Linked DNA regions of Homo sapiens: all the other regions are linked to region 4. The links are contacts of gene promoters, found by promoter capture Hi-C in blood cells and fetal thymus (Javierre and others, 2016). All regions are on one chromosome and are shown on one strand. Each heading gives the region's core, a stretch centred on a gene start or on the middle of the fragment in contact. The rest is flanking DNA. Distances are from core to core; before and after follow the strand shown.

Region 1 (6,988 bases), core at 3,969-6,468, 380 kb before region 4:
AAGCAGCCTCAGGGACCCAGCCCCTCCGCCCCTGACAAAAGCCCCACCCTCTGCCCAGAGCTTCCAGGGAGGCCACTGTCTTCCCCATGAGGAGGAGGTGTGTGAGGCAAGTCCTACAAGCCTTTACCCTCACTCCCTTCCACCTCAGACCGAAGTCCTCAGGCTTAGCTCTGTCCCCCACTTTCCCTCTGCCCAGCCTCAAAGATTACGTGGAAGAAAACCACAGGGTCCTAGGTAAGCACAGGCTATACATGGGTGGAAACTCTGACCCACCCTGCTGCACCTGCTGCCTCACTCAATCACACTGACATCCCTTCTCAACCTAACCTCCCTCCCAGGAATGCCCCTGACGCTCAGCCCCTCCCCTGCCTGTCCTTCCAAGTCCTCCCCTGACCACACAGGCCTCTGGCTGAGCACCCCAGCCTGGCCTGACCTGGAATCCACTGCCCAGCTCTCCACCCTATCTCATTCCCAAGTGTCCACTCCACCTCTGACACCCAACACAATGAGGTGCCGGGGGAGTGCTAGGCCTGGACCACTGTGCGCTCTGGGGCTTGAAGCATTTCCAGGCAAGGATGCTCAAGGCTTCCCCATCCTCTAGTCATTCACTCACTCACTCACTCACTCACTCCATGTTCACTGTGACACCCACCCTGGGCCAGCCCTGGGGACCCAGAGAGGAACTCACTGGGGGCCCAACAGGAGCCGACTGTTCTACTAGAGGGGAATGGACTACAGAACAGGGAGCCAGTGACTCCCCTGAGTGTCAGGGATCAGGAGGTGACACCCACAGCACCCCTGGAGGGGCGAGGAGGGGAGGCTTCGGGGAAGGGCTGCCTGGGCACAGAAGTGGGGATGGGTGAGGTGTGAGAGACACCAGGAGACCTGGGACAGGGCTTAGGCTTTTCTTGGAGGGCAATGGAGAGCCACAGAGTAACTTCAAGCAGATGAGAGTCATGAGGAGATAAGTGTTTTAGAGAAATTCCTCTGGCCGCTGTTATACACAGACAAGGTAGTTGGTATGGAGAGAAATGCCAGACTCAGGAACTGCCGAGGAGGAGGCAGAATCAATAAGAATCAGTGACGGGGGCTAAGCGCGGTGGCTCACGCCTGTAATCCCAGCACTTTGGGAGGCCAAGGTGGGTGGATCACAAGGTCAGGAGTTCGAGACCAGGCTGGCCAACATGGTGAAACCCCATCTCTACTAAAAATACAAAAAGTTAGCTGGGGGTGGTGACAGATGCCTGTAATCCCAGTTACTCGGGAGGCTGGGGCAGGAGAATCATTTGAACCCGGGAGGCAGAGGTTGCAGTGAGCCGAGATTGCACCATTGCACTCCAGCCTGGGAAACAAGAGTGAAACTCTGTCTCAAAAAAAAAAAAAAAAAAAAAATCAATGGCTGGATTTGGCTGAGGAAGAGGGAGTGACCCCAAATGATGGCAGGTTCTGGGCATGGGTGACTGAAAAGTGGAGACTTAGGGCAAGGGGCAAGTTAGGAGGAAAGATGGCGAGTTCCCCACTGGACACAACGAGGCTTAGGTGCCTGGAAGACATCCGAAGGGAGATGTCCAGGTGGCCGATGGCCACAGGAATCTGAATCTCAGCTGAGAGAGACATGGCCACTTGTGACAGAAGCCACAGGGGTGGCTGAGCCATCCCCAGGGAGAGAAGACTAAGGCCTAGAAAACCCAGGCATCCAGGACAGGCAGAGGGAACAGCCAGTGAGCAGGGAACAAGGCAGAGCATGGGGACGGCAGAGCCCAGGAAAAGTGCTCCCAGCTTCATCAGTGGGGCAGTGGCACCTCCCTGGCCCACTCTTTTCAAACCACTGTAAAGTCCCAAGCCTTGGTTCAAGGAAGGCTTTGGATGGAAATGCCCCAAAATGCAAAACAGCTCCTAACAGATGCCCTTCTGGATCCCTAGTAGATCAGGCCCCACCCCTGTGGTATAGGGAAGGATCCCATGATAGGCTGCCAGGGCCAAGCCCTCACCTTTGGGGTCCACCTGGGCCAGGTAGGTGATGACGCAGCTCTTGGGCCCTGTGCTCTGGATGAGGTAGCCCGTCTGGATGGACACAGCTCGGACCAAGTCTTTCCGAGGTGGGTATTTCTGGGGATGGAAGGCACAGGGAGGTGAGACTCGGGGTGGGGGCAAAGAAGATGTTTTTGTGAGTATACACAAACGCGCACGCGCACACACACATACAGTTAATTCACATGCCGTGACATCTGTTACAGATCAGTCCTGATTCTGGGTGCAGAGAAAGGGAAGAACCAGAGTAGGTCATCCTAGCCCCTCTTGAAGCTTTTCCTGTTCCCCTCAGAAAAGCCCCCAGTCTGGGGTCAGGGCTCATGAGCACATATGGGCACTCACAGACACACACACTCACCCTTGCCCAGGCCAGCTATACCTGCCTGTCCTTGCCCAGGGAGATCAAGGTGGCTTAGCCTCAGGGAGGACCAGAGGACCCTGCCTCTCACCTCTTGTTCCTCATTTCCCTGTCCCAGAGCCCAACCAATCGAAGTCAGCCCATCCCACCCACTTGCCACAGAGGTGGCCACACTGCCCTCTCCTGATCTGCTCAAGAGACCCAGCAGGGAGAGAGGAGCCATTATCCTCACTGTACAGGAAGGAAACTGAGGGCCAGTGGGCCCATGCCTGCCCGAAGTCATATTGAAGTCATGGTGGCAGCCTCAGCCTTGCGCTGCCTGACCCTCTCCCCTGCTCCACCGCAGGGAAGGCAGGTTGACTCACGGGATGTTTGACTGAGTAGTTCATAATGATGTAATCAGCGCCCATGGGGAGCCAGGAGCGGAGGGTGATGACATCACGGTTCTTCAGGGGCTTGGGACACCTCCCTGTGGGGGGCAAGGGACAGTTCAGCCAGACCACTGGTCCACCTGCCTACAAGGGAGGGTGTGGCAGAGGCCAGAGATGCAGGGATGCCTAATTAACTGCCAGCTCTCCAGTGCAAAGATACACCTCCCTCCCAGACCACAGTCCCACAGCTGGAGCCAGAAAAGAGACAGGGCAAGACCTGTCCCTACTGTCTCCAGCCAGCCCTGCTCCTTACAGCCTCACATAGCCCTTACATTGTTGGCCTGGCTGGTTTGTCTACGTGAACGTGAGTGTACAAGAGAAAAACAGTATGAGTGTGCATGAAAATGTGTGCCTGGGACTATGTGGCATGTGGGTGGGGGCTGTGTGCCTGATTGAGTGTATGCCTATGTGTGTATGTATATACGTGAACATGTGAGTGCATATGTATTTGTAAGTGTATGGGTGTGTGCCTAAGGGTCTAGGAGTGGACAGGGAGGGCAGCTCTATCTCTCAGCACTCAAGTCTCCGAGCAGCTTGGTCATGTGAGTAACCACAGGAGGGAGGGGGGAAGAGGAGGCTTGGTGGGAGGCCTGGATGGAGGCCAAGGGGACTGGGATCAGCGTGCTACGCCTGCTCACAGGAGTAATAGCCCACGTCAGCGTTGACTGTCAAGCGGGCGATGTCAAAAGTCTCAATGACGTTGCTGTCCCATTTCTTGCGGTACTCAATGTCGTGTAGGACGTCGTAGAGTGTCTCGGCTGGCACATCACAGCACTCCATCCGGCACTGCAGACAAGATATATGGGTTGTCAGGATCATATGGGGCTCAGAGCCTTGGCCAGGGGACCAGAAGGCAGACAGGCAGAGGGGGAGGAAGAGAAAGAGGACAGCAAAGAACAGGGGCCTCTGAAACCAGCATGGACTTCCTTCTTGCCACAAGCCCTGTCCAGCTCCCCAAAAAGCCACCTGTGCCAGGAGACAGACAGCCTCTGTATCCAGAGACCATCTCCCCCGACTCAGCCCAGTCTCCTCCTCCAGGAAGCCTTCCCAGCCAGACCTTCTGGGCTCCCACACAATGCATCTCTATGTCTGTGCCCTCCCAGACCCCTGTGAGCTCCTCGTGGGCAGAGGCTCATGGTTGCTTCAGCCTGGAGCCTGGAATAGCTACATGTTAAATGAAATGAAAGCATAAATGAAAGTCGAATGCCAAAGTGGATGATTTATTTCCTCCCTGGTACTTATCACGCGGCCATACCACCTGTCCTCTTATTTGTGGTTTGTTTGTTTGTTTTTCCTTCAACAAACATCTTTGGATTTTTTTTTTCTTTTTTTGAGATGGAGTTTCGCTCTTGTCACCCAGGCTGGAGTGCAGTGGCGCGATCTTGGCTCACTGCAACCTCTGCCTCCCGGGTTCAAGTGATTCTCCTACCTCAGCCTCCAGAATAGCTGGGATTACAGGCACGTGCCCAGCTAATTTTTGTATTTTTAGTAGAGATGGGGTTTCACCATGTTGACCAGAATGGTCTCAATCTCTTGACCTTGTGATCCACCCACCTCGGCCTCCCAAAGTGCTGGGATTACAGGTGTCAGCCACCACACCCGGCCTGGATTTCTTTCTTTTTTTCATTCATTCATTCATTCATTTATTGAGACGGAGTTTTGCTCTTGTTGCCCAGGCTGGAGTACAGTGGCGTGATCTCGGCTCACTGCAAGCTCTGCCTTCCGGTTTCAAAGGATTCTCCTGCCTCAGCCTCCTGAGTAGATGGGATTACAGGCACCTGCCACCACTCCCGGCTAATTTTTTGTATTTTTAGTAGAGACGGGGTTTCACCATGTTGGCCAGGCTGGTCTCTAACTCCTGACCTTGTGATCCACCTGCCTCTGCCTCCAAAAGTGCTGGGATTACAGGCATAAGCCGCCGCGCCCAGCCTGGATTTCTTACTGTGTATTAGCCTTGCCCTCAAAGAGCTTTCCATCTGGGTAGAAGACGGCCAAGGACACCTTGTTTTATTTAACCCCCTCACCAACAACTCTGTCAGATAAGAAATCCAAGGAGGAACTTGAGGCTCAAAGAGGTTAAGTAACTCGCCCAATGTCACTCAGCTGGTAAGTAGCAGAGCCAGGATTTAACCCAGATCACATGTCTGGAAAGCAAGTAAAATCAGAACGAGGTTTCCCTAGGTTTGCACTCAGTGAGATGAAACTCAATATCCTTGTTCTGTGATTTTTTTTTTTTTTTACCCAAGTGCCCTATCCCCAAGATCAAGTTCCTCTCAGCAAATGGACAAGTTTTCTTGTGTAGTTTAAAAAGATCTCCCAGAACTGGCATTTAGACAGTGCCAAGGGAACCCTCACATAATACTTTTCCACTCACAAGAGGAGATAAGCAACCATATGAGGGAGAGGTCACACTGTCTTCCCCCTCATCCCAGAATAGGCCTTGGCCCCACTAATGGTGGTGGGATGCCGCAGGAAGGACACACCGACACCTGCTAGCTATTCTAGGCACCAAGAAACCCATCACGCCTTGGATATAACTTCAGTTTACAGAAAATACAGAGGACAGAGGAATGAGCTAAGTGACACCACATGAGAATGCAACCAGACAGAGCCAGACAGTGAATCATTCCACGGGACTCCTGGCCCAGGCTCTTCTACTGGTCAACGTAAACAAAGGGGCTGGGTGGGACTGACTGGCAGGACATAACAACCACATGTAAAGTGTGTCTCTGCATTGCAAACTGATTTGGACACACCATCTATAAAGGGGATTTTTGGGACAACTGGAGAAAAGTGAACATGATCAGAGTATCAAATGCACTGAAAATTTACAGAAACAAAATGGTGGAAACTGCTGCCTAAAAAAAGGTTACAAAATAGGTTGGGCGCGGTGGCTCATACCTGTCATCCCAGCACTTTTGGAGGCTGAGACGGGCAGATCACTTGGGGTCAGGAGTTCGAGACCAGCCTGGCCAACCATCTCTACCAAAAATACAAAAATTATCTGGGCGTAGTGGCACATAACTGTAATCCCAGCTACTCAGGAAGCTGAGGCAGGAGAATCGCCTGAATCTGGGAGGTGGAGGTTTCCGTGAGCCGAGATCATGCTGTGTGCTCCAGCCTGGGTGACAGAGCAAGACTCCATCTTAAAAAACAAACAAAAAAAAAGCAGCATAACCTCAATTGGGGGAAAAAAAATATACGCATAGAGGAAGCTCAGGAAGCACAATTGCTAAGGTGTTAACAGTGGAGATCTCTAAATGATAGATAGGAATGTGATGGTTTCATTTTGCTTGTCTGTATTTCTTTTTCTTTTCTTTTCTTTTTTTTTTTTTTTTTTTTTTTTTGAGATGGAGTTTCGCTTTTGTTGCCTAGGCTGGAGTGCAATGACACGATCTTGGCTCACCGCAACCTACGCCTCCCGGGTTCAAGTGATTCTTCTGCCTCAGCCTCCTGAGTAGCTGGGATTATAGGCACCCACCATCATGCCTGGCTAATTTTTGTATTTTTAATAGAGACGGGGTTTCACCATGTTGGCCAGGCTGGTCTCAAACTCCTGACCTCAGGTGATCCTCCCGCCTCGGCCTCCCAAAGTGCTTGGATTACAGGTGTGAGCCACTGTGCCCGGCCACTTGTCTATATTTCTTATTATCTAACATGTATAGTACTAATTCTGAAATAATGAAAACAATTTGGAAAGGTCCCCCAGCAATACTGACAGGTGCACCCACCATGTGCCAGGTATTACACTAAGTGCTTTATACACATTATTTTATTCTTACAGCAGCGCTCTGGGATATTGGCCCCATTATAGGATTAAGAAAAACAAGGTTCAAGGACAGACTCGAGACTGCAATATTGTTTGTGTCACCCTAAACAATTCACCCTCCCTTTCTACCCCATTTACCTTTCTGCTCTATAATGGGGCATAACTAGATCCAACCATTTAATCAGCAGCCCCCAGCTCCAGCCCTGTACTGAGCCCAGAAGAGTCAGAGATGAATTCGAGGCCTGTCTTTGAGAGGTCTGCAGTGAAAGGAGGAGCCCACCTTGGAAATGGGGAGATGTCCTAAAGTGCTCATTGGGGGCATAAGAAGGAAATCAGCTCCATGGGCTGGGTCGGGGGATCAGGCTTCATGGAGAATCTCAGTGCAGGAGGTAGGGGTTT
Region 2 (4,487 bases), core at 1,988-4,487, 450 kb before region 4:
TGACCCCCAAGGAAGAGGCTGGTTGGAGGTCAAGCTAATGAGGCTTCCTCCTGCTCTAGGAGCCACTTGCTTGAAGCCCTACCCCTACCAGGCACCCCTGGAGTCCACAGGGGCACCAGAGTGAATGGCAGGGGAGGGGGATTCACTTACAACCGAAACTGGGGGTCAAAGACTGAGCCACCTCCCCCCTGTTCCCCACCATTGCTCCCAGCCACCACCAGGCATGGCTCCTCAGCAGGGGCCAGAGAAAGGACAGCCAGGGGAAGGGGAAGTTTTGGGAACTGGTGGACTTCCTGTGATATCACAAAAGGATGGGCTGCTTAGGGACTGGAGAAGACCTCTGTGCTCTCACAGGGGGTGTGGCTTAGGAGGGCCTTAGTAAGGACTTTTCACTCTGCTTTTACCCCGATACCTGCTGATTGGAAAGCCTCATGTCTTCTACAGACAGCACCTAACCTGATGATGGCCATGTGCCCAGGAGGGCCTGGAACCAACTGGGCTGCAGGCATGGAACAATCAGGGCTGCAGACAGGGAGGAAATTAGGCAGGCGGGAGGAAATCAGGCTTCGGACATGGAAGAAACAAGATGTGGGGGAATATAAGGAAGAAACCTGTAGGCACACACAGAAGAAGCAAGGCTGGGAGCACTAGAGCAATCGGCCTGCAAACTGGAAGACAGCTGATGGCAGAAATGGAAAGACTGAGACAGAGGCTATAAAAGAGATTCGGCTGCAGGCATGGAAAACACAAGGTTCTGGGTATGAGGAAGGATGTGGGGGAAACTGGACTCCAGGTACAGGAGGAATCGGCTGAGGGGATGGAAAACAGGCTGTGGGTTTGGAAGAAGTCAGGCTGTGGGTGGGAGGGGAACAGAACTAGAAGCAAGCAGTCAAGTGAGTTGAGGGTGGACGGGACAGGCCCAGTCAGGCGCAGAGGCAACTGCAGGAATCAAGACATTCAAACCAGGCTGTGGCTCCAAGAATGAAAACACAACCCTCAGGCCTCCGATTCCTTGGGGTCTGATGTGCATGACATGTGTGTGATGTAAGGGTGGCTGAGTCAGAAAGTCTGCAGAAGTGGGTCTTGGGAGGGAAGGATGTCAGTCAATGCAATCTCCTTTTGAGAATGAATCCCCCAAGCTGGAGTGTAGTGGTGCAATCTCAGCTCACTGCAACCCCAACTCATGGGATCAAGCCATCCTCCCACTTCAGCCTCCTGAGTAGCTGGGACTACAAGCATGCACCATCACATCCGGCTAATTTTTATAGAGACAGGGTTTCACCATGTTGCCCAGGCTGGTCTCAAACTCCTGGACTCAAGCCATCCTCCCACCTTGACCTCTCAAAGTGCTGGGATTACAGGCATGAGCCACTGCACCTGGCCCAAGGACATTTCTAATCAGACGGCTCATGTTTCCAGCATCTCCAAGGCATGGGGCCATGGGCAGACAATGACGTTTACTCTTGATGCTTAAGGATCTCTGCTGGAACCAAGATCTTTCTAGCATGTGCCTTTTCCAGGTGCCTCAGGGTCTTTAACAAGAGGAGACCCCCAGGATAAGGCACAAGTGGACATATATCCTACTGAATCACCTGAGATTGTCCCAATTTCAAATATTCTGTCCTACTGCCGCATAAACCAACAAATGCCAGAGTTGATAACCCCGTGGTAACCAGCTCACATCTGCTCAGGGCCTCTGCCAGGCCAGAGGTGTTGGCTGTCTCTGGGGTGTGAAGAGCACCACCTACCCTGTGCTGAGCACCCCTCCCTGCTGAGTCCTCAAGTCTGAGACTTCCAGGAATACAAGCTTGCGTTTCCACACTAAGAAACCTGGGTGCAAGTCCCAGTCTACACTTATAGATGGCCTTGGGCAAGTCACACAAAGCCTGTTTTCTCACCTGGAAGTGGGGACAGCCCTCTTCCTCAGAGAACAGTAGTAAGGATTCCATGTCTCAGTATGTGAAGGGCCAGCACTAAGCCAGGTTCCTTAGGGAACATTAGATCTCATCCCTTTTTCTAGCTCTCCTGCCTCCTTCCTTCCATGCCCAGGGATCCACACGTCCCTTTCCAGGTACCTCAGCCATCTTCCCTCCCTTCTGCCCACAGTGAGGGTTCTAAACACTCCTAGAGGGAGGCGGCCAGGGAAATAGCATCCCAGAACCAAGGGGGATTGACTGGATGGGCAGATAGGCTCAGAAGTGAGGATGTGATCACAGAAGAGGGCAAAGGAGAGAAGAGACGGTGTTTCCCACAGGGTTAGCAGGAGCCCAGGATGCATTAGAGGAGGCACAAAATGCAAAGAGAAGGAGATGAGGTCCTGCTCTATCTGCTCTGCTCCTGCCATGGCAGCCAAGCCTGTTCAGATGACCTCAGGAAATGCAAGGGGCAGGAAGAGGCTGAAGACACTGGGGATGGGGTGGTGGGTAGCTGTGGGAGCTCAGGCTAGACCACCAGGCTTGGAACCATGTCTCTGTTGCCCATCCTGCAGGGCAGCAGTCCCCAGTCTTTTTGGTACCAGGGACCAGTTCTGTGGACAACAATTTTTCCATGGGTGGGGGGATGGTTTCGGGATAAAACTGTAAAACCTCAGATGTTCAGACATCAGATTCTCATAAGAAGCGCACAACCTAGATCCCTCGCTTGCACAGTTCACAGTAGGGTTCGCACTCTTACGAGAATCTAACGCCGCTGCTGACCTAACAGGAGGCAGAGCTCAGGCAGTAATGCTCACTCGCCCGATGTTCACCTCCTGTTGCACGGCCCTGTTCCCAACAGTTGGGGACCCCTGCTGCAGGGCATCTATGCTCTGTAGCCCCCAAGGCATAGCTGGGACCCATGGGGGCATCATGAGATGCAGATTCTCAGCAGAACCTGAGCAAGGACCTTTTCCAGACAGAAGTATCCCCCTAGGAACAGGGCAGCCCCAAGGGCGGAGGGATGAGCTCTCTCTCCTAGGAGTGTGCAGAGTGGAAATAGCCAGCCAGGAAGCCTCAGAGAGACTGCTACCCCAGGTGGGGGTATCCCACAAGCCTCTCTCGTCCCACCCCGGCATGTTAGGATCAGGGCAGTAGCAAGAACATTCTGACAGTCCTGGAACACTGTCCAGGGTTGGAAATAAGGTGGCTCCAGGGATGACAGGAGATGAAGATCAGGGCTCTAATTCAAACCTAGGTGCCATCATTACTGGCTCTTTAACTTCTACACTAAGTCCTTTGGAAAATTCTAGAGCATTGCACTGATAAGGAACCCTATATTGGGGAAAGGACCCTGGGACAGGATTAGGGATAAAGGGGAGGAGCTTAGGCCCCAGGATAGGGGCCAGTGCCAACGGGCAAGGGGGCAGGGATCCATGCCTGGAGATGGCCAGGAGCCCTGGCTGTCTCCCCATGCTCCCACCCAGCTCATTTGGCCCCCAGGTGGTGTAAGGCAGCTGGCAGTCAGCCCACAGCTACTCACGGTCTCAGGGGCCCCGCTCCACGGCCTCTGGCTCTGTTTGATAGAGGATCAGGGTTATGGAAGAAGTCCCAGGTCTAGAGCCAGGACAGCATGTGCAGTGATGTGTGGGGTTGGGGTGTGTGTATGGCATGTATGTGCAGAAGGTGGAGGGTGTCAAATGGAGTCTGGGTTGGGAGAACACCTGCATGTGGACAGAATGAGGGAGAAGGGTGGCCCGGGAGGCATATGACATACGATATGACAAGGCATGCATGCACAACTTGGGGCTGTCATCAAGTAACAGGTTCCTGTGGATGCAGTGATAAGGCACAGGCACAGTGAGACAGAGCATGGGCATGGAGTGGTGTGATGGCATCCGGGTGCCAGGGCTTAGTGGGGCTACAGGGCACACTAGAGTGGCCGTCCAGGGCCACAGCAGGAGGGGTCTTGAGAGTCTACAGTTCTCCCCCACTGCTGTGCCATCCTGAGAGCCTGTAACGGGAATATTTCCACTTGCAGACCAAGGGGAATCTCTGAGCACATTCAGGTGTACAGGTGCCCACCCTGGGGCAGAACCCAGCGGGGCCACTTACCCGGACCTCCTTGTAGAGCCGCAAGCAGCTGCTGTTGAGGATGAAGTAGCGATCGTGGAAGCCACCTGAGGGCAGGCCCAGGCCCAGGAGGCTGCGGTCCTCACGGAACTTCATCATGCCATGCTTGGTGTCACCGACACGGCTGGCTGGGGGGTGGGACTGGAGTGGGCACAGGCTGCACCAACCCCTACCCGGGGCTGGGTCCCAGGATGAAGGAAGCTGCCCCATCCTGCCCCAGCCTCTCCATAGAGGCCCACCCACTTGGCGCCCTCTGTCTGAGCTGTTCCTACCTGGCACCACCAGGTCCCACCCTGGCTCTGGAAGAGAGGACCACCCGGAGCCTGGCCACCCTGCAGGCACCACCTACCCAGGTACAGCAGCATGGCCTCCATGGCCTGGTGCTTCTTCACCACCAGGTGGCTGTCCGTGCCCAGCCCGTGCAGGATGGGCAGCACCTTC
Region 3 (6,636 bases), core at 3,414-5,913, 270 kb before region 4:
GTTTCACTCTTGTCACCCAGGCTGGAGTGCAATGGCATGATTTTGGCTCCCTGCAACCTCTGCCTCCCGGGTTCAAGCGATTCTTCTGTCTCAGTCTCCTGAGTAGCTGGGATTATGGGCGTCTGCCACCATGCCTGGCTAATTTTTGTATTTTTAGTAGAGACAGCGTTTCACCATGTTGGCCAGGCTGGTCTCGAACTCCTGACCTCAGGTGATCCATCTGCCTTGGCCTCCCAAAGTGCTGGGATTACAGGTGTGAATCACCATGCACGGCCAGAGCAACTCTGTTCTAATAACAACTGGGGAAGTGCTTACAACCCCAAAGTCAAGTGGGTGATGTTTCTTTTTCCCTCTAGCTGGATTAACATTAATAGTTAAATGAAAATAAAGCTTCAATAGATTGTTTTTCCTTAAAATGTAGACCCACACACAACCCTTTTTAAATGTGCAAGTGTATTCTCATTAGAAAATTAGAATGCTATGTGAAAAAATTGACAAAACTTCCAAGAATGTTGAAAAATTTTCGTCAGTTTCGCTAGCAAGCCTGCCTGATATCTGAAGAGCACAAGCATTTAAAGAGGCACTATGAAGACAGTGGGAAGTTGGGAGGTTAGAGTTTTAGCTTTTAGTTTGCCACTATTCCAACTAGCCACTCACCCATCCAACCATTCACTCCTTCCTTCAAAAATATTTAAGTACCAACTATGTGTCAGGCACTTTGCTGTGCAGAGCAGAGAACCAGGAAGATATGGCAATTACATTCTAGAGAGGAAGACAACAATAAACAAAAGAAAACAAATAAAGAAGGCAAGTTCAAACTGTAATAAATACCATTGAGGAAATAAACAGGATGACAGAGAGTAATGGGTGGGGAGGTGACAGTAGGAATTACATTAGTCTGACTAGCAAGGCATCACATATCCAGCTATGTAATATCAGGCAAATCAACCGAATTTTTCTGGTACTTAGATCTCCAACATGAAAAACTAAGGTTGAACCAGATGACATCAGAGTAGAAAAAGCCCTGGACTTGAAGTAAGGAGACTTAAGCTGTGTCCTGGCCTTGTCTGTAAAACTCACCTACACTCTCTCTATGTGAGGAGAATATGAAAGCTGTCAAGAATTGAAGTCACCTTCAGACTAAGCCCACGTACTAAGAAGAACATTCCTTTCACTTAAGATTTTGTGCAAATCTCTGGATGTTTATTTTCATTTTCACTAAAGAAGACCTCTGAGAACTTCAGAGACACTAGATTGTTTTCTATTCTATTACTTCCAGACACGAAGCATATTTACTCTATGAATGGGATGAGTTTGGTAGATAGGCATCGATAACCCAAATAGTGATAACATATTCTTCATCATACATTAAAAAAAACACTCATTTTTTCCTCTCTTTCACTTCCCGCAATAATTTTAAATCAATTAGTGATAGGCTGAAGAATAAAACCTAAATCACTAGCAAACTATTATCTTTTTAAAAAATTTTGGCTATTATTAAGTTTGACTACAGAGTCAAAGCATGCTTCAGTGAAAATCAACTTGTCATATCCAAGAAAAGAAATCGTACCGAGTGTAAAGTGCCATTACTGGTCACTGCAGGAGGGCGGGCCCATCGCTCATTTTCCAGTTCTTCCATTACTTGGTTCATGGCACTCTTTAGCCATGTGTCCACAGAAACACCAATCTGCTTTAGCAGGTCCAACCGGGCTTCAGCTTTCAATTTAATTATCTAGAGAACCAAGAAAATGGTCGGAAATCAAGGCTTTTATTATTCACAATAGCAAAGATAAGGAATCAACCCAAATGCCCATCAATGATCGACTGGATAAAGAAAATGTGGTACATATACACCATGGAATACTATGCAGCCATAAAAAGGACAGAGATCATATCCTTTGCAGGGACATGAATGCAGCTGCAAGCCATTATCCTCAGCAAACTAAGGCAGGAACAGAAAACCAAACACTCCATGTTCTCACTTGTAAGTGGGAGCTGAACAATGAGAACATACGGACACATGAGTGGGGGAGAACAACACACACTGGGGCCTGTCAGAGGGCGATGGGTGGGGAAGGAGAGCATTAAAAAGAATAGCTAATGGAGCTGGGCTTAATAGCTAGGTGATGGGTTGATCTGTGCAGCAAACCACCATGGCACACATACCAGGATTACTTTTGCACCACCCTAATAACAAACCCGCACATCCTGCACACGTATCCGGGAACTTAAAAGTTGAAAAAAAAATTAGCTAGGCATGGTATCATGGGCCTGTAGTCCCAGCTACTTGGGAGCCTAAGGTGGGAGGATCACTTGAACCCAGGAAGGGGAAGTTGCAGTGAGGGGAGATCGCACCACTACACTCCCGCCTGGGTGACAGAGCAAGACTCTGTTAAAAACAAACAAACAAACAAACAAACAAACAAACCAAGAAACTATATAACCGTCATGAAAGGAAATTACTTAAAAGGAAAAAAAATCATACATGATCCTATCAGTCTTACATGGCAAATATTCTCAAGGCTTTGTCCACATGCAGACATATTTTTGCACAACTGTATTCTTGGTGGCAATGCAGCTTAGCTTTTACTTTTTAAGTTACCTTTTTTTTTTAAATTTTTTATTTTTTTGAGATGGAGTCTCACTCTGTCACCCAGGCTGGAGTGCAGTGGTATGATCTTGGCTCACTGCAACCTTCACCTCCTGGGTTCAAGCAATTCTCCTGCCTCAGCCTCCCAAGTAGCTGGGATTACAGGTGTGTACCACCACACCCGGCTAATTTTTGTATTTTTAGTAGAGGCGGGGTTTTGCCAAGTTGGCCAGGCTGGTGTCGAACTCCTGACCTCAGGTGATCCACCTGCTTCAGCCTCCCAAAGTGCTGGGATTACAGGCATGAGCCACCTCACCCAGCCAAGTTACCATTTATTATAAACTTCTTGTTTATATCCCTATCAAAAAAAGGAAATCAAGGCTTTTTTCCCTCAAATTAATTAAGTTCTTCCTAATCGATTAATTACAACAATCTTGATATTCACTAGCAATTCTTCCCTGGCACAGATGCTAATTTTTCACTTGAAGCAGGGCAAGAGAAGGGGAAAGGGAGGGGAGATAGTGAAGAAGGGAAAGAGAGGGTTGGGGGGAGGGAAGAAGAGAGAGAGAGAGACAGAGGCAGAGAGACAGAGAACATGAACAAAAGAAAGGAATCAGGGTCTCCTAACAATGGAATACTTGCTTTTTTTTTTTTTTAATAAAAGTATGGAATGCTTCACGAATTTGTGTGTCATCCTTGCATAGGGGCCATGCTAATCTTCTCTGCATCATTTCAATTTTAGTATATGTGATGCTGAAGTGAGCACATACTTGCATTTTGACAAGGGCATGGTATTGATGATAGATCAAATATAACTTGTGAAGAGGAAGAGATCAAGAGTGATAAAGTCTGTTTCCTTTTCCTGTTCATAATGCTATGCCTCAGAACACCCTGAAATCCAGCATTTTCAGTAGCCTTCTAACCCATTTCCTGGACTTTTTCTCCTCTGTAATCCATCTTTTACAGTCTGTGAATGACCTCATCATGTTGCTCCCCAGTTTAAAAACTTTCATAACTCCTGACTGTCTACTGAGTAAAGAATTAACTAATTCTTAACTAGGAATAAAAAATATCTTTCACAGTTTGGCTGAGTTATTTCCTTCTACTGTTTCTTTCCACACCCCCCTATGCTCCCACCCCACTGTCCCACTTGCTGTTCCTCTGATCCATCATGTGCTTGCGTGCCTGTGTGCGTGCCAGTCCCTCTGTAAAGGCCTTCTCATTGCTTTTTGATGCCTGGTGAGTGCTTATCTTTTGACGGTCCGTTCAAATATTACCCTTTCCACAAAGATTTTTCTAAGTATTTCTCAACCTTCCTTAGGCAGTTAATAATTCCTTTTTCTCTGCTCCTAAAGCACTCTATATAGATCTAATTACAATGTGATAGGCACGAAATTATACTTAGCTATTTAACTAAGTATGCCTGTTTGATATAATTGGGGGCTCCTTTAAGACTCGAGCATTGACATTCAGCGTTATTCTCCTGTTATGTGTTCAGTAACCTTTTTTGAATAAATATCCTATATAACTGTGCTTCTACTTTTCCAAGAAAAGACTGAATAGGCTCTACCAATTCTTTCAAGATTGGCTCTACCAATCTTGAAAGACTGCCATTCAATGATATTGAGTTATAAACTACTGTGTCTCTTTAATAATAATAATTTTTAATATAAAAGAACTTCTCTCTAACAATTCTAACATTCTTCAGCACAAGCTTAAAGAATTCCCCCTTTGGGCCAGGTGCGGTGGCTCACGCCTGTAATCCCAGCACTTTGGGAAGCCGAGGGGGGCAGATCACGAGGTCAGGAGATCGATACCATCCTGGTTAACACAGTGAAACCCTGTCTCTACTAAAAATACAAAAAATTAGCTGGGCGTGGTGGCGGGTGCCTGTAGTCCCAGCTACTCGGGAGGCTGAGGCAGGAGAATGGCGTGAACCCAGGAGGCGGAGCTTTCAGTGAGCCGAGATTGCGCCACTGCACTACAGCCTGGGTGACAGTGCGAGACTCCGTCTCAAAAAAAAAAAAAAAAAAAAAAGAATTCCCCCTTTGACTTGGCTGCCTTTATTGACTAACTTGTTTGTTGACTAACAGTAATGTCTTTGCTTTTAAACTACATTTATGATGTGGCTGGCAGAAATAGCAGAGATTGAGAATAAAAAGTTCCTATTCTCCAAATTCAAGAAAGGGAATAACTGCTTATTCTTTAGCCCTTGTTCCATAAACCATAAACAAGTAACCACAGAACTAGTTTTAAACCCCTCCCGATCAGAAAGTAACTGCTGCTTTGCTCCAACAGCCATGCCTCTGAAAGTCAGCTAATCTGTGACAGCTTCTGCTTCTACTAGTCCTCCAAACTCTAAAAACCAAGGCTGAAAGTGAGCCAACCCCTTAAACATTCCTAGTTTTGAAAATCTGCCAATCCCTGACATTCAAGCTTCTCAAAACCCTATATATCAACTCTTGCTTTGTTCAGAGTCAATGTGTTTTGTGTCATTCTCTTTTGCTTAGCAAGTAAAACATTCAGCCTCTTTTGCTTAGCAAGTAATGCATTCAGCTTCATTGTTTCACATATGCAAGTGGTGATCTCTTCCTTAACATTTAAGGTTCCACTAAGCTAATTTTAGGTTAAGTAAGGTTCCACTTACTTAACCTAAGTAAAGTTCCACTCTCACTTGGTGGCTTTCTGTGGGACTCTTGGACAAACAAGTTGGAGCTGGTGCAGTGGCTTGTACCTGGAGTCCAAGCTACTCAGGAGACTGAGGAGGCAGGCTCACTTGAGTCCAGGAGTTTGAGGCTGCAGTGAGCTATGATCATGCCTGTGAATAGATAGCCACTGCACTCCAGTGACAAATACCTTTGGTACATAATTTTTTTTTTTTTTTTTTTTAGAGCCAGAGTGGTTGCTCTTTTGCCCAGGCTGCTCTTGAACTCCTGAGCTCAAGCAATCCTCCTATCTTGGCCTGCAAAAGTGTTGGGATTACAGGTGTGAACTGCTGTGCCCAACAGGTACATAATTTTGATTTCCCTCCGAATTCTCTGCTTGGGGAGTTGATATCAAAAACAATTTATGTTCTGACTTGTATCACTGGGCTTTCTTTGCTGAATTAATTTTTTTTATATTAACGTTTTTAAGCAAATAGATTTTTATAAAAATTGAGGTAAAACATTACATAAAATTTACTATCTGCACCATTTTAAAGTATACAATACAATGGTTTGGGGTATCATATACGTCTTTATATAAGACAATTGGAATTTTTGGCTTAGAGGCACTCCAATTGGTAAATACTCTTGCAAAAATCTGCTTATTCTTTTCATAATTTCTTTTTTTGGTAAAACTTTATTGACATATAGCTCAGGTGACAAAGACCTTTTGGCACACAACTTTTTTTTTCTTTTCTTTTTTTTTTTTTTTTTTAGAACCACACAATTCACTCATTTCAAGTCTGAAATTCAGTGGCTTACAGTATATTCATAGTACATGCAACCATCACCACAGTCAAATTTAGAATATTTTATCACCTCCAAAAGAAACCATGTACCATTTACCTATTGTTCTCCAGCCCCCTATTCCCTGCAGTCTTGACAATCACTATTCTACTTTCTGTCTATAAAGATTTGCCTATTCCAGACATTTAACACATATGAAACAATATAATACATGGTCTTTTATGACTAACTTCTCTCACTTTGCATAATATTTTCAAGATTCATCTATGTTGTAACATGTATCAGTATTTCATTTTTTTAATGGCCAAATAACATTCTATTGTATGGATATACATTAGAATGTTTATCCATTTGTCAGTTGGGAGTCATTTAGGTTGTTTCTATTTCTTGGCTATTATGAATAATATTGCTATAAACGTGTGTGTATAAATTTTAGTGTGGACATGTTTTCACTTCTTTTGGGTTTATATGTAGGGCTGGCATTGCTGGATCATGAAGTAATGCTAAGTTTAACCATCTGGGGAAATACTAGACTGTTTTTCAACGTGGCTTTATCATTTGATCCCACCAGTAGGGTGATGAGGGTTTCTCCAC
Region 4 (7,109 bases), core at 275-2,774:
TGCCTGCTGGCCAGAGAGCCTCGCCCGCCAGGCCGGGGCCCCAGGGTTCGAAGTTAACGGTCAGTCTGGAATCTCGGCCTCAGCAGTGGGACCACCCGGAGGGGTGGGGGTACATGTTCGAAAGAAAAGGACTCACTTAAATGGAGAAACCCGGATTAGGAAAGAGAGAAAGCAGCGGCAGCAGACACGGGTGAGTTAGGCGTTAGGCAAATGTTTGCCCACGAGGGGAGGACAGAACGGCCTCATCCACCCAGTGCCCAGAGTAGACATTCAGTATCCATCTGTAGGATTAAAAAGACAAGGACACAGCCTCGGCCCCTGGGAAAGCTGGGGAAGGGCGCAGCGGGGAGACTGATGACAAGCCGGGTGCATCCGTCACTCCCACCCTGGTCATCCAACCCCGGATCGCAGTGCACACCCCACGCACCTCCCGGGCCCGGTCCTCGCTTTTCTGAAGACAGCACGACAGCCTCCTCGCCCCTCAGCCGGGGACGAGGCAGGACCCGTCAATCCTTAATTTGTTTTCCCTTGGGGTGGGGAGGCGGTGACTATTCCAACTTCTTTTCGGCCGCCCCGTGGGAAAAGCAGGCCAAACCCTAAGGCTAGGCTAGAAACAAATCCCCCGCAAATTTGCAAACGGGCGGGGCTGGCGACAAGCGGCTGGAGGGCTCAAAGCTGGTGCAGACTAAACAATCACACACGCACAAGGCTCTGCAAAGCTGCAGGGGCGTCCCCGCCTCCCCCTCGGTGCAGCCCCGAGAATGCACTTTGCAGCGGGCAGCATTGCCATGCGCGCGCACACACACAAATGCACACCCGAAACTCTTGTGAAATGTCTGGGGGTCTCCTGCGTTAGAGGACGGACGAGCCCCGGCGGCCCCTCTGTCGGAAAGGCAACTCACACGCGCGCCCCCCACCTGGAGCCGGCGGCAAGTCGGTGACAAGCCCAAGACGAGGGCGGTCACGGCCCCTTGCGGGAGGGGGAAGGGGCGCAGCGGTCGCCCCAGCCGCGTTCCGCGTACGCATCTCTCCGAACCCCAAAGCCCCCCAGCTGCGCCCTTACCTTCCTCGGCGGCGGCTGCATGATGCTGAAGGGACATCAATCCTCCCCGACGGCAGCGTTAGCAAGGACCAGGAGGAGGAGGAGGGCCGGAGAGGAGGGGACGGCCCAGCGAGCGCGCGCGTGTGTGAAAGGAGCGCTTAAGAAGCAAGACTTGCCCCGGAGGGAGCAGGCCAGCGGGCGGCAGGCGGACCCCAGCCAGAGAGCGAGTGTGAGGAGACGAGGGAGGAGCACCGGGAAGGCTTGGGGCCCGGGCGGCCCGGGCGGCCCGGGGGTGTGTGAGGAAGGAGGCGGAGACGGCGAGGGGGCGGGGGCCCCAGGAGCAGGGGCGCGAGGGTCTCAGCCGGCCGGGCGGCGGGTTAGCCGCAGCCGCGTTGTCCGCGCTCCCGGTCGGCCGCCTGCGCCGCCGCTCCCGGCGGACGCAGCGGCCCCCACCCCACCCACTCAGGCGGCCCGGCCCTCGCTGGGCCTAACGCCCCCGCCCGCCCGGGAGGAGGAAGGTGGCGCCGCTCTCCCCGCTAGGGCTCCACCACTCAGGCCGCGGGAATTTCCGGCCTCGCCGCGCGGCGCAGCGCCCCGCTCCGGATGCTGAGGGAACCGCTCTGTCCAGAGCGGGGTTCGAGGGGCCGGTCCGGGCTGCCAGGAGGGAGCTAGGCCACGGCACGGGGCTTCGTACCGCGGCAGGGGAAGGGGGAAGCTAACGGATTGGTCGGTGGGTGGGAGGTGTAGAAACGCCAGCGCCACGCGAAAATCCCCCCTTTCTCTCCGAGAGTGGCACGTTCCAGACGCCTCCTGCCCTCCCTCCCCCACGCTGGGAGCCAGCCGGGGGCTTCCCGCGCGCTTTCCCGCCAGCTCGCCCCGGCGCGCGCGTCTCCGCTCGGGGGCGCGCACGTGGGCGGGAGAGGGCTCCGCGCCGACGCACGCGCACAGGCCGCCCCCGCCTCCTGCCTGCCTTTGCGTGTGTGTGTGTGTGTGTGTGTGTGTGTGTGTGTGTGTGTGTGTGTGTGTGTGTGTGTGTCGGGGGGCGCGGGGGACGACGCTCGCAGGGAAACGTTTGCAGTGGGGAGGGGGGCGCAGCATGCCTGTGGGATACGAGAATTCCGGCGTTTTCTTCCTCTCAGCCCCTCAACACCCTACTCTCCCTACCAGCTAGATGTGCGCGAGAGAGGCGAGCAAGGACAAGTCGCTTTGCGGCTGGCCGCAGGTGCCAGGCCATTGCGATTGTAGGGCGGAAAGGCAGTTGCTCTGCAAAGGAAACGGCGGCACTCTACTGCAGGGCATTCAAGTCAAACATCACTGACTCCGCTGAGAGGGAGCCAAGAGAACGTTAAGGCCGAGGCCCCCGTTTCACAGACGGGGAGGCAAGTGCCCATAGAGGGAAGCCTTTCTAAAGGTTACACAGCAGGACTAGAATCTGCGTCAGGAAGTGTTCTATGGGTTATTTTAAAAAAGAAACAGGTGCAGGATAATAAGCACGAGGAAAAGTAGAAGAGGCAGGAGAGGCCATAGAGGAAGCCCTTGTCTGGGAGTCAGGATCTCTGGGTGCCAGTCCACTTTGCCTGCTCCTTAACAGGCTAGGTGAGCTCGGCTTCCTTATCTGCCAGTGAGGGTGCTTATCTAAGCAGTGCACCCCACCACCACACATGAACCTTCCTGCTCTGTTCAGACCATCTACGGGGGAGTTTATCGACCTCCCTTGGGGTCCTCAGAAGAGGAATACCTCTTCCCCATGCCCAGGGAGGTTTTTTTTTTTTTTTTGAGTCACGGGGCTGTGTGGAGGCTGAGCTGGATTACTCCACCGTTTTTTCAGAAGTTGAGATCCCAGACAGCTGTTCTCAGAAGTGCAGTCAGGCCTAAGAGGAAGGTGAATGAGGCCTGGATAGACGAGTAACTTCCCAGATGACCACATGACCAGAAATTGAAAAGGTGGAACTTCAACCCAGGTTGTTTACATTGAGTTAGACTAGATTCTTGTACAGAAAAGTGACAGAGCTGTGTTTTGAATAAGATTAATCTAGAGCTGTGTATGAACTAGGAGACTAGTCTTGCTTTTTCTGGCTTCAAAAGTTAGCCCTTCACCAGAATCCTTAATCAAATCAGGGAAGGCCTGGGGCAAGGGGACAGGTGGATGGAGGCCCAGGGCCCTGACAGCTGCGGGGTGGCAGCTAGAGCCCAGGCCATAGGTAGCGTAGGCTGGGCTCCAGTCTCAGCTCCACCACCAATTTATTGTGAAGCGTTGAGCTAGTCAATTCACTTATTTCAGCCTTGTTTCCTCACTTGTAAAATGGAGGTATAATGCTAGCCTCATAGGCTTACTGTATTAAATAGAATTTCTCCTACCACAGGGCCTGGCATGTAGTGCTTAATAAGTGCTTATTGAGGCCAGGCGCGGTGGCTCACGCCTGTAATCCCAGCACTTTGGGAGGCCGAGGTGGCCAGATCACAAGGTCAAGAGATCGAGGCCATCCTGGCTAACACGGTGAAACCCCGTCTCTACTAAAAATACAAAAAATTAGCCAGACGTGATGGCGGGTGCCTGTAGTCCCAGCTACTCAGGAGGCTGAGGCAGGAGAATAGCGTGAACCCGGGAGGTGGAGCTTGCAGTGAGCAGAGATGGCACCACTGCACTCCAGCCTGGGGGACAGAACGAAACTCCGTCTCAAAAAAAAATAAAAAATAAAAAATAAAATAAGTGCTTATTGATTCATCATTCATTCAAAAAATACTTGCTAAAGTCCTGCTTTGTTCCAAGCCTGTGCCAGGCACTGGGGTTCTAGAGATGAGCAAGATAGAATCAGCCTTCGCCAAGACTGAGTTCCAGACCAACCATTCCTTGAATGACACTGGGCTAGTGGAAGAGGAGTAACACAGTACTTGGCCCGGATGCAGTGTCATGCACATAACAAGTGCTTAACAAAGATTTGCTGAATCCTAGTCTTGGGTGCAACTGGTCTGGCCCAGAGATTATCCTCCCTTCACCTCTCTTCTTAGGAAGTGAGCACTGGGGTATAATGGTGCTGGATGTTGGGAGACATGGGATCCAGCCTCTACCATGGATCTAGTGGGTCTTCTCTGGGCCTTGGTGCTGGCCTGCAGAATAAGATAAGTGAGTGAGCCTAGAACTTAGGAGGCTCTTCACAGAAGAAGTCAGACCCTGGGGATTTCGTTTATGCATATAGGAGGGCATCCTCTACCTGATTTGCCACCGTTCTGAAGCCAGGAGTGGCACTGACTTTCTGGAATGATTTCCTTTGGAAGTGTTATAAAGAGCTAAGGGCAATACCAGATGGGCTTACCTACTAACTCCTATTTCAAAACTGTGATTTAAAAAAATTGTTTTAATACTTACCAAGTGTCTCTTCCAAACCCTAAACTTTCATATTACTTTTCCAAGCTAATCTTTACCCATGAGATAGTATTCGTTTCTTCATTTTTACTGATGGAGAACTGGAGGCTCAGTGGGGATAAGTGACTTGCCCTGACATGATAGACTTCAGACCATAACCCAGTTGTCCGATGAGGAATGTTCGTGTATGAAGAATGTTCAAAGGAATTGGGAGAGTTCCTAACGCAGGAAAATAAGCAGACCCAGGAGGATACAATCCATTATGTTCCAGACTCTAGGGGACCAGGGAAGGGATTTCTGTGACTTATGTAAGCCTGACTTGAAATGTACCATTTTGAACAGGGTTGGGGACTTCCAGAGCCTTGCTCCTGCAATGCAGGCAAGCGCTGTGTTGCCAGTAGCATTGCTTGAGATTCTTTGGGGAAATGGTGCAGAGCAGCAGGCACTATGGCCCCAGAGACAAAACTGGGACAGGTGTTAGCTGCATCTCAGGAAGGAACTTTTCCAGGCAGAGCTACCCCTGGAAGGAGTGAGCTCCCTGTCCCTGGGGCTGTGCAAACAGGTTCTGGCTCCCTTCCATCAAGGAGACCACAGATGGGATCTCACTCTGAAAAGAAATTAATAACAGCTGCCATTTATTTTGCCTCTTCCATGTTCCAGACATTAAAATAGGCGTGTTATTTACATTGTTTCCAACATTCACAACAACTCCTCATAATACATATAACCCCATTGCACAGGCTGCAGCTCAGAAGTGAAATGACCTACCCAAGGTCACACAGCTAGTGAAGGAAAGGGAGGGCTGGCCCCTGGCTCTGAAGCTGTGCTCTCCCTCCAGCATGCTGCAGTGCAGTCTCCCATTTCATTAGGAATATGATTCTAAGGTTAAGTCAGAGCTAGGATCAAAAACTGGCCTGGAGCAGGTATATGAATGGGTATCAGAAGATCAGCTGTTCTGATATTCCAGGGCTCCTGGGAAAACTGGCAGGGAGACAAAGTATACAGCGGCCCTTTAGCATGGCCAGAACATGAGTAGCACACTACTCCCCATCCAGAGCACGCACCTAGGACAGTTTGACTTCGTCAAAGGCTCTCTTCAGAGAAAGTAGCTGCCAGTCCCCCTGCCCACACTGCACCAAAGCATCCCTGACCGTTCCTGCAGTTGGGGTCCATCAGCTCTCTCTACTCTGTCTTCCTCTGTGTCATTATCCCCCACCTGCATTGACACAGACTGCTCAGGAATACTTGTTAGCACGTCTGGATGCCAGCTATTCCCTGCCTGGGCCCCACCAAGTCCAGCTGGGGATGCTGCGGCAGACAGTGTGGTCTATGGACCCCATCCCCATTCATCTCCTTCCTACCCCTAGTCACCTTTCCCTACCCATGCCTTTGCTCCCTGAGCTAATTCCCTCAACACCAGCCTCCTGCCAGCCTGATGTGAGAGTGTGCCAGTCTCTTCCACTATCAGCTCTCAGGACAGAATCCCAGCACAGGTAAATGAGACTTCAAGATTGGTGGCCACCAGAAGAGAGCAGGGGCTCTCCTTAAGACACATAGTGAGTTTGTTCAAGGCACTAGGCCTTGAATTCCATAGTATCACTCAACAAGCCCTTATCCTGGGCTTAGTCATAAGCAGGTCTCTGAGGTGAGGAGCTGCCCACCAGGAGCTCCCAATCTCAATACAGAGACCAAGGTCACAGCAGTGAAACATGCAGGGCCAGGAGGGTCATAGGGACCCAGATCCTACCAGGTGGTAGCAGAGATCTAAGGCCAGAGGCAAGTCCCTAAGAAGCAGGCACTGGGACCAGGAATTATCTTGTCAAGTGTTGCCCCTACCAGGGAATATTACAACTTTGGGTGGCAGGGGTGGGGGTGTACGGTAAATGAGCAGTCAGTCCCAGGGCTATGGTAGGAGCTGATAGGCACATGGTTTTAACATTACAAGGCAGGAAACCACGGTGCTAATTCTATCTCTGCCAGGTACTCACTGAGTGTGACCTCTAGCGCATCACTGTCCTCTCAACCTTGGTTTCTACATCTATAAAATAGGAATAATAAATTCCATCCTGTCTTCCTCTTGGAGGGCTGTGCAGGTTAAATGAAATAACAGGTAAATGGTCTGCAAGGGCTGAGGAGCCACATAAACAAGTAACTGCTGATCCTAGGACACATCAGGGAAGGTTGAGTGACCACCTGTATTGAACGCTGATCAGCACCTTCCGCCATGAGCTGCACTGTGATTAGGCACCAATGAGTAAAATACTTTTGGTGGAGGGATGAGGTTACAGGGGTCTGAGGTCAAGCAAACCTGGGTTAGATGTCTATTTCTCCTCTGCCAAGCTTAGAGTTTTTGATCAAGTCTTGAAACCTCTTTTCAGCCAGGTTTCCTTGTCTATAAAGGAGAGATAATGGCTCTTTGCAGGGTTGCAGTGGGAATCAAATGGGAATGTTTATGTAAAGTGCCTGCAACTGTGCTGGCCCACAAGTGTGTTTCCTTTGTTGAGTTTTCCTTCAGTTTCCCGTCATTTTGTTATGGCTTTATTTGTAAGTTAAAAAATAAACCACAAAAAGAGGAATTTCCATGGGGGAGATTGAGCCCCACTAGAATCTTAGTTCTGCTCCTTACTCATTGTGAGGACCTGGAAAGTCCCTGCCTCTCCCTTAGCCCGGGTTTTCTCATCTGTAACACCAGGGGTTCCACCA

What was found. The method cuts DNA at HindIII sites, captures the fragments that hold promoters and counts their contacts. A CHiCAGO score of 5 or more calls a contact.
Region 1: a contact is called between a fragment that was not itself captured here and the fragment with the promoter of FCHSD2 in region 4, in 1 of 17 cell types (neutrophils). The highest score is 9.5, in neutrophils.
Region 2: a fragment that was not itself captured here is called in contact with the fragment with the promoter of FCHSD2 in region 4 in 1 of 17 cell types (neutrophils); the score reaches 6.2 in neutrophils.
Region 3: a contact is called between a fragment that was not itself captured here and the fragment with the promoter of FCHSD2 in region 4, in 5 of 17 cell types (total B cells, M2 macrophages, naive B cells and 2 more). The highest score is 6.0, in total B cells.

The regions. Positions count from the first base shown.
Region 1 is chr11:72,755,776-72,762,763 of GRCh38, forward strand. STARD10 (StAR related lipid transfer domain containing 10) reads right to left here. Exons shown (of 7, transcript NM_006645.3): 3 at 3,459-3,606; 4 at 2,755-2,858; 5 at 1,992-2,109. Among named protein-coding and RNA genes, the nearest start is that of ARAP1, 6.9 kb to the left of the region's middle. The HindIII fragment of the contact is 5,833 bases long and covers 2,303-6,988 here.
Region 2 is chr11:72,689,297-72,693,783 of GRCh38, forward strand. ARAP1 (ArfGAP with RhoGAP domain, ankyrin repeat and PH domain 1) reads right to left here. Exons shown (of 35, transcript NM_001040118.3): 28 at 4,396-4,487; 29 at 4,029-4,174; 30 at 3,457-3,489. Among named protein-coding and RNA genes, the nearest start is that of ARAP1-AS2, 8.9 kb to the right of the region's middle. The HindIII fragment of the contact is 2,865 bases long and covers 1,806-4,487 here.
Region 3 is chr11:72,866,295-72,872,930 of GRCh38, forward strand. FCHSD2 (FCH and double SH3 domains 2) reads right to left here. Exons shown (of 20, transcript NM_014824.3): 13 at 1,571-1,732. It also overlaps the pseudogene RNU6-672P. Among named protein-coding and RNA genes, the nearest start is that of ATG16L2, 55 kb to the left of the region's middle. The HindIII fragment of the contact is 722 bases long and covers 4,303-5,024 here.
Region 4 is chr11:73,140,794-73,147,902 of GRCh38, forward strand. FCHSD2 (FCH and double SH3 domains 2) reads right to left here and starts at 1,525. Exons shown (of 20, transcript NM_014824.3): 1 at 1,064-1,525. The coding sequence starts at 1,084. RefSeq lists enhancers at 1-122, 123-744, 244-473, 2,344-2,453, 2,534-2,673 and 1 more and silencers at 654-793, 1,194-1,573, 1,734-2,113. The HindIII fragment of the contact is 9,673 bases long and covers 1-6,744 here.